2 separate regions of the Homo sapiens genome follow, and region 2 is linked to region 1. Evidence: promoter capture Hi-C in human tissues and cell types (Jung and others, 2019). All regions are on one chromosome and are shown on one strand. The core of a region is centred on a gene start or on the middle of the fragment in contact, and the rest is flanking DNA. Distances in the headings are between cores, read along the strand shown.

Region 1 (3,995 bases), core at 230-2,729:
GTCCAGCTTTGTATATGCAGGCCAGACCTCCCCCTGACCTTCAGCTATCCTACAACTGCTGCCTTCACTTCATCTCCTCTTAGCTGTCTAGAGGACATCTCGAATGTCACATGTTCCAAATCAAGCCACTGGCATGCATTCATCTCCTTCCACCTTCTCTCCTTCCCCATCTTGGTTAATGGCAAGTCTATTCTTCCAACTACTCAGAACAAAAATTTGAACTCATCTTGACTCTTCTCTTCCTCTCACATTAGTCATTAATTCATCAGCAAATCCTATAGGTTCTTCCTTAAAGTATATCCACAAGCTGACCCCTGTCACCACCGATGCCACTTAGTGCAAGCCAAGAACCTCTTGGTTGGTCTCCCTGCTCCTGCTTTTTGCCCCCCACTGATTAGTCTCAACCCAGCAGCCAGAATGATCCAGTTAAAACCCAAGTCAGATTGTGTCTCTCCTCTAAGGGCTCCCCTCTCACTCAGAGGAAAAGCCAAAGTTCCTTCAATGCAACCAGGGGGTGTCCTGCATGGTCCTCCTGCCCCCCGCCCCCTTGCCTCTCTTATTCCACTTCCCATCAGGCTCCACCCTGCTCTCTTTGCTTCAGCCATGCCGGCTGTTCCTCAGACATGCCAGCATACTCTTGCCTTGGAACCTTCACATTTATCATTCTGTCTGCCCCGAACACTCAACCTCAAATAGCTGTGCAGCCCTCTCCTTTACACAAATGGTAACTCTTCCATGAAACCTTTCTCCACCACTCAATGTCCATTTCCAAGCCCAGCCCATGCTCCCCAGCCCCATCCCTGCTCTGCTTTTTTGCCTTCATCCTCATCACTATCTGACCCAGTGGATAGTTTTAATTGTATCTGTCACTAGAATGCAAGCTCCATGAGACACACATTTTTGTCTGTGTTATTCATTGCTCTACTTCCAGTTCCCAGAACAATTTTGGCACATAGCATGTGTTCATTAATTATGTGTTGGTTAAATGAAGGAAGCTTTATGAGGGAAAGAGCATGCCACTCCTCTTCCAGCGTCCCCCTTGGTGGCCAGGGCAGAGCAGGCATTCAGCTGCTCTTGTGGGAGAAGAAGGGACTTGCAAGATCATCTCCCTTAGCTCCCTCATTTTCAGGAGGCCAGGGACAGTGGTCCCCAGGAAGGGAAGGAGAGTCCAACCTAGTTTGCCTGATCCCCCATGGGAGGCTGAGGTTGCAAACAGACAGCTGCAGCTCCTTGCAGCTATGCCACACACACAGCCTTTCTGAATCAGAGGGTATTAGTCTTTCCTTCTGAACTCTTGGGATATTCCTGTTTTGATTTGGCTCTAGCAGTGACCACACCGAGTTGTGCAAAGCCTGGGAACAGTGAGGGCATTAGGACCAGGAGTGACGCGCACGCTTGGCTCTGGGTTGTGTCTGGCAGAGGGCTCTCGGCTGAGTGGAGCTATGTGTGAAAGGAAACCAGGCACTGCCTGCCGGCTTTACATCTGTTGATCTGACCTGACTGGAAGCGTCCAAAGAGGGACGGCTGTCAGCCCTGCTTGACTGAGAACCCACCAGCTCATCCCAGACACCTCATAGCAACCTATTTATACAAAGGGGGAAAGAAACACCTGAGCAGAATGGAATCATTATTTTTTTCCCAAGGAGAAAACCGGGGTAAAGGGAGGGAAGCAATTCAATTTGAAGTCCCTGTGAATGGGCTTTCAGAAGGCAATTAAAGAAATCCACTCAGAGAGGACTTGGGGTGAAACTTGGGTCCTGTGGTTTTCTGATTGTAAGTGGAAGCAGGTCTTGCACACGCTGTTGGCAAATGTCAGGACCAGGTTAAGTGACTGGCAGAAAAACTTCCAGGTGGAACAAGCAACCCAGGTTCTGCTGCAAGCTTGAAGGAGCCTGGAGCGGGAGAAAGCTAACTTGAACATGACCTGTTGCATTTGGCAAGTTCTAGCAACATGCTCCTAAGGAAGCGATACAGGCACAGACCATGCAGACTCCAGTTCCTCCTGCTGCTCCTGATGCTGGGATGCGTCCTGATGATGGTGGCGATGTTGCACCCTCCCCACCACACCCTGCACCAGACTGTCACAGCCCAAGCCAGCAAGCACAGCCCTGAAGCCAGGTACCGCCTGGACTTTGGGGAATCCCAGGATTGGGTACTGGAAGCTGAGGATGAGGGTGAAGAGTACAGCCCTCTGGAGGGCCTGCCACCCTTTATCTCACTGCGGGAGGATCAGCTGCTGGTGGCCGTGGCCTTACCCCAGGCCAGAAGGAACCAGAGCCAGGGCAGGAGAGGTGGGAGCTACCGCCTCATCAAGCAGCCAAGGAGGCAGGATAAGGAAGCCCCAAAGAGGGACTGGGGGGCTGATGAGGACGGGGAGGTGTCTGAAGAAGAGGAGTTGACCCCGTTCAGCCTGGACCCACGTGGCCTCCAGGAGGCACTCAGTGCCCGCATCCCCCTCCAGAGGGCTCTGCCCGAGGTGCGGCACCCACTGTAAGTAAGGCCCTTGTTTTCCCTTCCCTGATCCCAGGGCATGATCGGGTGGTAGCAAACTCGGGAATGCAAACTTTCCGTAGCCTGCCTCTCCTGACTTAGAGCAAGTGCTTTTCAAGATGCAGTACCTGGGCCAGCAGCGTCAGCAGCCCCTGGGCACTGGTGGGTTCTCAGAAATGCAGATTCTCAGACCCCATCCCAGACCTGCCAAACAAGAAACTCTGGGTGGGGTCCAGTGGTCTGTATGAACAAGCCCTTCAGGTGAGAATCATTGTCCTAGAAAGCAGAAAGTGAGGACTCTTGCTTGTTCATTCTCTTCTCCGTCCTGGGTTCTAGTTCTTCTGTCTTTAGGTCAAATGGCTTTATTTCTATAACACAGAAGGGAGGTTAGAGCAGACATTTGCCAGTTCTAACACTCTGACTCCACTACATTTTGATTTTAGGGTTATTGTTAGTGTTTGCTTTTAGTTTGGATCAAAATAACAATTGCAGTTTACATTTAGGGGGCTCTTCCCATGCGTCTGGATTTACTTTACAAGCTTTTAATGTATTAACTCATAAAGTCCTGGAAAGTCCTCACAGCTCTGCAAGATGGGTGCTAGTAGTATCATCATGCTTATTCTATAGGTATGAAAACAAGGTGAAGTTGCTTTCCCAGTCACGCTGCTAGTAGGTAACAAAGTCAGGATTTGAATGCAGGCATGTGAGCTCCAGTCTGCCTGACCCACCACTCCATGCCACCTGCCTTGGGCCACTAGACTAAGGAAACAGGTCCAGTGCCTGAGAGCCAGAATACTGTGCTGACTGCAATTTACCCTGCCAGGGCAGCCCCAGCCCCAGGAGGTAAGCTGAGAAGTGTAGGTGATGGGCAGAGCTGTGCCCAGGGAGATGCTGGCCCATCCTCCACACCCCCTGCTCCCTTACTGTCACCATGGCTGACCACTGAGGAGGGAGCCTTGGTTACCAGCATCCAGGGAGCAAGGCAGCTTGTTAGTTTTAGTTTGGTGATTTAGGTCCCTTTTCCTATAGGCCATTGCTCCTCCCAGAGCCTGGAGAGTTTCCTGGAAAGCAAACATTTGTGCAGGGCAGCAGTTGGAAGCAGGGCCACACACTCTTCGGATCCCTGATCTAGTTCCCCTCAGCCTGGCTGCTCAGCCACTCACACTCGAGGGTGTGCAATTGCAGGGTCAGCAGCCGGGAGTGAACATCTCCTTAAATTGTGTGCCCCGGGTGCCTCACTCACCGCACCCTACTTCCATTTCAAACCCGCTACACTGTTTTCAAGCCTTACCTTTAAAAGCTATTTTCAGGAAATTCCCACCCCATTCTAGTTTTGTGCCCTCCTTGCACCCTGGAGTTTTAACTCACAGCACTTACAAAACTAAAGCCAAATGATTATTGATGTATTTATCAGTCGAATGCCTGCTTTCCCTGCTATGCTGTGAGCCCCTTAGAAGGTCAGGACTGAGTTTGTATTGTACATCCCAAAGCCCAACATGCAGTAA
Region 2 (4,061 bases), core at 430-2,929, 520 kb before region 1:
CCTCCCAAAGTGTTGGGATTACAGGCGTGAGCCACTGCGCCCGGCCAAGACTGTTACCTTTAGCGAGAGCTTATTATCACCTAGTGTTCATATAAACATGGGATTTAAATACACACACAACCCCCAAAACAAATTGCTAAAAGATATTTGTGCAGATTTTATTTTTCCAAATGGCTACAACAGTATTTGAAGAACTAACAAGTTTAAAAATGTAAAAGGCCAGTAAGGCAACATTGGGCACTGGGGCAAGTGAAGGGGAGGGAAGGAGCATGGAGTCAGGGGAGAGGGCATTGGCTGGTTCTGCAGGCTCTGCAGGCTGGGGGAAGAGTTAGGGTTTATGTGGGCAGACAGCATTGCAGGGGATTAGGCAGGGGAATAACATGGTCATTTAAAATGATTCTTCTGGCTGATGACAGGTTTTCAGATGCTTCACCTCCTCCTAAGTCAGTCACACCTCATATCCAAGCCATGAGGACTCACTGAGGGGAATGTAATAAATAGCTATTTAAGGGAAAAATAACAATTAAAAAATCTATAATAGCAGTTTAAGGGACAAAAACCAAAACATTTCTTTGGAATTATTCATGTTAAGCTTAACATTTTCTAATATAGTCCTGCATCCTTTTTTTTGTTTTTGAGATGAAGTCTCACTCTGTGGCAATCTTGGCTCACTGCACCCTCTGCCTCCCGGGTTCAAGCGATTCTCCTTCCTCAGCCTCCTGAATAACTGGGATTACAGGCATCTGCCACCACACTTGGCTAATTTTTTTTTTTTTTAGATGGAATTTTGCACTTGTTGCCCAAGCTGGAGTACAATGGCATGATCTTGGCTCACTGCAACCTCTGCGTCCCGGGTTCAAGCAATTCTCCTGCCTCAGCCTCCCATGTAGCTGGGATTACAGGCATGCGCCACCATACCCGGCTAATTTTGTATTTTAGTAGAGACGGGGTTTCTTCATGTTGGTCAGGCTGGTCTCAAACTACTGACCTCAGATGATCTGCCCGCCTTGGCCTCCCAAAGTGCTGGGATTATAGGCATGAGCCACCGCGCCCGGCCTGCATCAGTTTTTAAAAGACATCAGACACGTCAAAGCCACAGGAGGAAAAGCCCCTACATTCATGCACAACAGAAAGGCTTTGTTTTCAGTAAACACGCACATCTTCAAAGAATGGTTGCAATCCAAATTGTTTAGTAACTATTAGAGGAACAAAGAAGGCTGTGTCCTCTGAATTATAATGTGCATATCCTCTAAATTGCTGCATATTAGGGGTTGAAGCATGCTGGGAGTTTGACGTATGTAAGGAAAATTATTAGGTTGATGGAATATAAAGATACTTATAATAAAAGCCAGTATTTTGGCATTTATAAATGAATCTGAAAAGGGTGAAGAACTTCATTGTTTTGCAATTAATACCACAAAATGTGGCCCTTGTGTTCTACTGGCCCCTGAAAATTGTTTCAGATCTTTCCTTGGTGCAGTGTATATTGAATAGTAAAAGGGACATATGTCACAAAACAGATTTATTCCTACAAATTTACATAAAAAATAAGAAGTGAAAAAATAAACCCAGATTTTGAATGCGCTGGCTTGGGAGCCCAGAGACCAGGCCTGGCTTGCTTTTAAATTGTTGTGTGACCTCAGCCATGTACCTGTGCCTCTCAAGGCCTAAGGTCCTCTCTCTGTAAAAGAGGGGACTACATGAGATGATTTCAGCTCAAATATCCTTGGAGACTCTCATTGTTTTCTAGTTGTAAATTATGCTTTTTCTAATAGTAAATAAGAAACGAAACAGTATTCATGTATGACAGAGAATACTTTGTTGTTTTTACTTTGTTTTGTTTTTGAGACAGAGTCTCACTCTGTTGCCCAGGCTGGAGTGCAGTGGCATGATCTCGGCTCACTGCAACCTCTGCGTCCCGGGTTCAAGCAATTCTCCTGCCTCAGCCTCCCATGTAGCTGGGATTACAGGCTCCTGCCACCATGTCTGGCTAATTTTTGTATTTTTAGTAGAGACAAGGTTTCACCATGTTGGCCAGGCTGGTCTCAAACTCCTGACCTCAAGTGATCCACCCACCTCGGCCTCCCAAAGTGCTGGGATTACAGGCATGAGCCACTGCACCCAGCCTACTTTGTTATTATTATAGATGTAAGATACAATGAATTTCTCTGAGTTTCTCTTTAAAGATTTAGCCTGCTAACTTCCTTGACCTTTGTTTTCAAACCTCAACTTTTCTGTTCCTCCTTGCCCCTAGTTATTGTAAAATAGCCTACCCCCTTCCCATCAGTTCTAATCAATACCTCACATCTGTTGCCTTGGTTACCTGCACCCATTGTTCCCCTCAAACTGCATGTCTCACACACTTCACCACTGTACCTCACGTCCCCTTCCCCTCCATATTTAGAAAAATATTTCCAAGTAGCCAGTCAGGTCAGCTCAGATTGCGCAGTCTGACCCCAGCTCATGCGGGAGGGACACAGAGGTAGGGATTGCATTAAGGATATAAAAACTGCCTGGTCTCCTTTGTTCTTTGTGCTCTTGCAATCTTGATTGACTCAAGTGGCACCCTTCTGCAGAAGTAAATTGCCTTGCTGAGAAAACTTTTGCCTGGGTGCTGGTTTTACTTTGCGGCACTGAGCACTTATTCCTAGAGCATTTTTATATCCAACATAGAATATTTTATAAAACAAAAACAAAGACTCAATTTGTAATATGAATCCTCTCCCTCCGGGCTGGAGGCTAGCCACCCCCTCCCAACTCATTCATTTGTTTAATATGTTTAGATTTTCTTAATCAGTGTTGTGATTATCTATTGCTAAGTGCATAAGTGTCACTTCATTTCATTAAGTTCCACTAACTTAAGTTTCACTAAGTTCCACTTAGTTTCTAAGTTTCAACTATGAAACGTAATGGCTTGAACAGCCATTTTATTTTGCTCATGAATTTGGGAAGGACTCAGTTATGCAGCCCACCTCTTTCTGGCCGGAGTGGTGGGGGATGGAGAACCCACTTCCAGGGTAGTTTCTCCACTCAGGTCCCTGGCACATTGACAGGGCAGCTGGAAGGCTCCTCTGGGCCTCTCCATGTGGTCTTTCAGCATGCTGGTCTGAGGATAGTCAGACTTCTAACAAGACATCTCAGGTTTCCCAGACAGGGTATTATAAGAGACAGGAAGAGGAAGCTGCCAATTTCTTAAAGCTGTGGCCAGAAACAGGCACAGTGGCACTTCTGCCATATTCTATCAGTAAAGTTGCTACAGCACCCTTCTAGATTCAAGGAGAGGAAATACAGAGCCCACTCATCAGTGGGAGGAGTGTAAAAGAATTTGTGGCTATTTAAAGTCTACCTCAAAGTAGGCTGCTGTACTGATGTCAGTTTTTATTTATTGAGTGCTTAGCAGGCATAGTAGCTCCTTGAATCTTTCCAATAACTCTGTAAGATAGATATCTTTATTAATCCCATTTTACAGATGAAGAAACTGAGACACAGAGAGGCTGAACAACTGGCTCAATGCCCCCCAGAGCTGTATGTGAGCTAGGTTTTGAACATAAGCAGTTTGTACATGGGAAATTAATGAGCTAATTAGGCTATTTATTATCATAACTTCATGTAATTATTACAGCAATGGTAAGGCACATTACAAGCACTATGCAAGTAAGTAGCCTTTCCATATTCCAGGTAAGCACCCTTCTTGGGTGGGGATGGTCCCAGCTGCTTTTTTGCTGTGGGCTCAGAAGATTGTGCCTATGGGTGAGTGATGGACTGTTCGAGGGCACCTTCCACAGGAATCTTTGTCAGTTTCTCTAGGCATGAATCTTGCAAACAATATAAAAGTCTTCAAGCAACACTGAAAAAAAAAAAAGAGTACCAGAAACCCAAGATATAACAGGTTGACAAAACAGTTGGAGGGGGCCGGGCGTGGTGGCTCACCCCTGTAATCCCAGCACTTTGGGAGGCCGAGGTGGGCGGATCACTTGAGGTCAGGAGTTGGAGACCAGCCTGGCCAACGTGGTGAAAACCCATCTCTACTAAAAATACGAAAGTTAGCTGGGCATGGTGGT

The links. The method cuts DNA at HindIII sites, captures the fragments that hold promoters and counts their contacts. A contact is called where the count stands out against the background at its distance.
Region 2: a fragment that was not itself captured here is called in contact with the fragment with the promoter of GALNT15 in region 1 in 2 of the 25 tissues and cell types used here (adrenal gland and liver).

What each region holds. Positions count from the first base shown.
Region 1 is chr3:16,173,201-16,177,195 of GRCh38, forward strand. It overlaps GALNT15 (polypeptide N-acetylgalactosaminyltransferase 15), which reads left to right and starts at 1,480. Exons shown (of 10, transcript NM_054110.5): 1 at 1,480-2,490. The coding sequence starts at 1,952. The HindIII fragment of the contact is 4,561 bases long and covers 1-2,455 here.
Region 2 is chr3:15,653,976-15,658,036 of GRCh38, forward strand. It overlaps a transcript of BTD not described here. Among named protein-coding and RNA genes, the nearest start is that of MIR3134, 41 kb to the right of the region's middle. The HindIII fragment of the contact is 7,925 bases long and covers 1-4,061 here.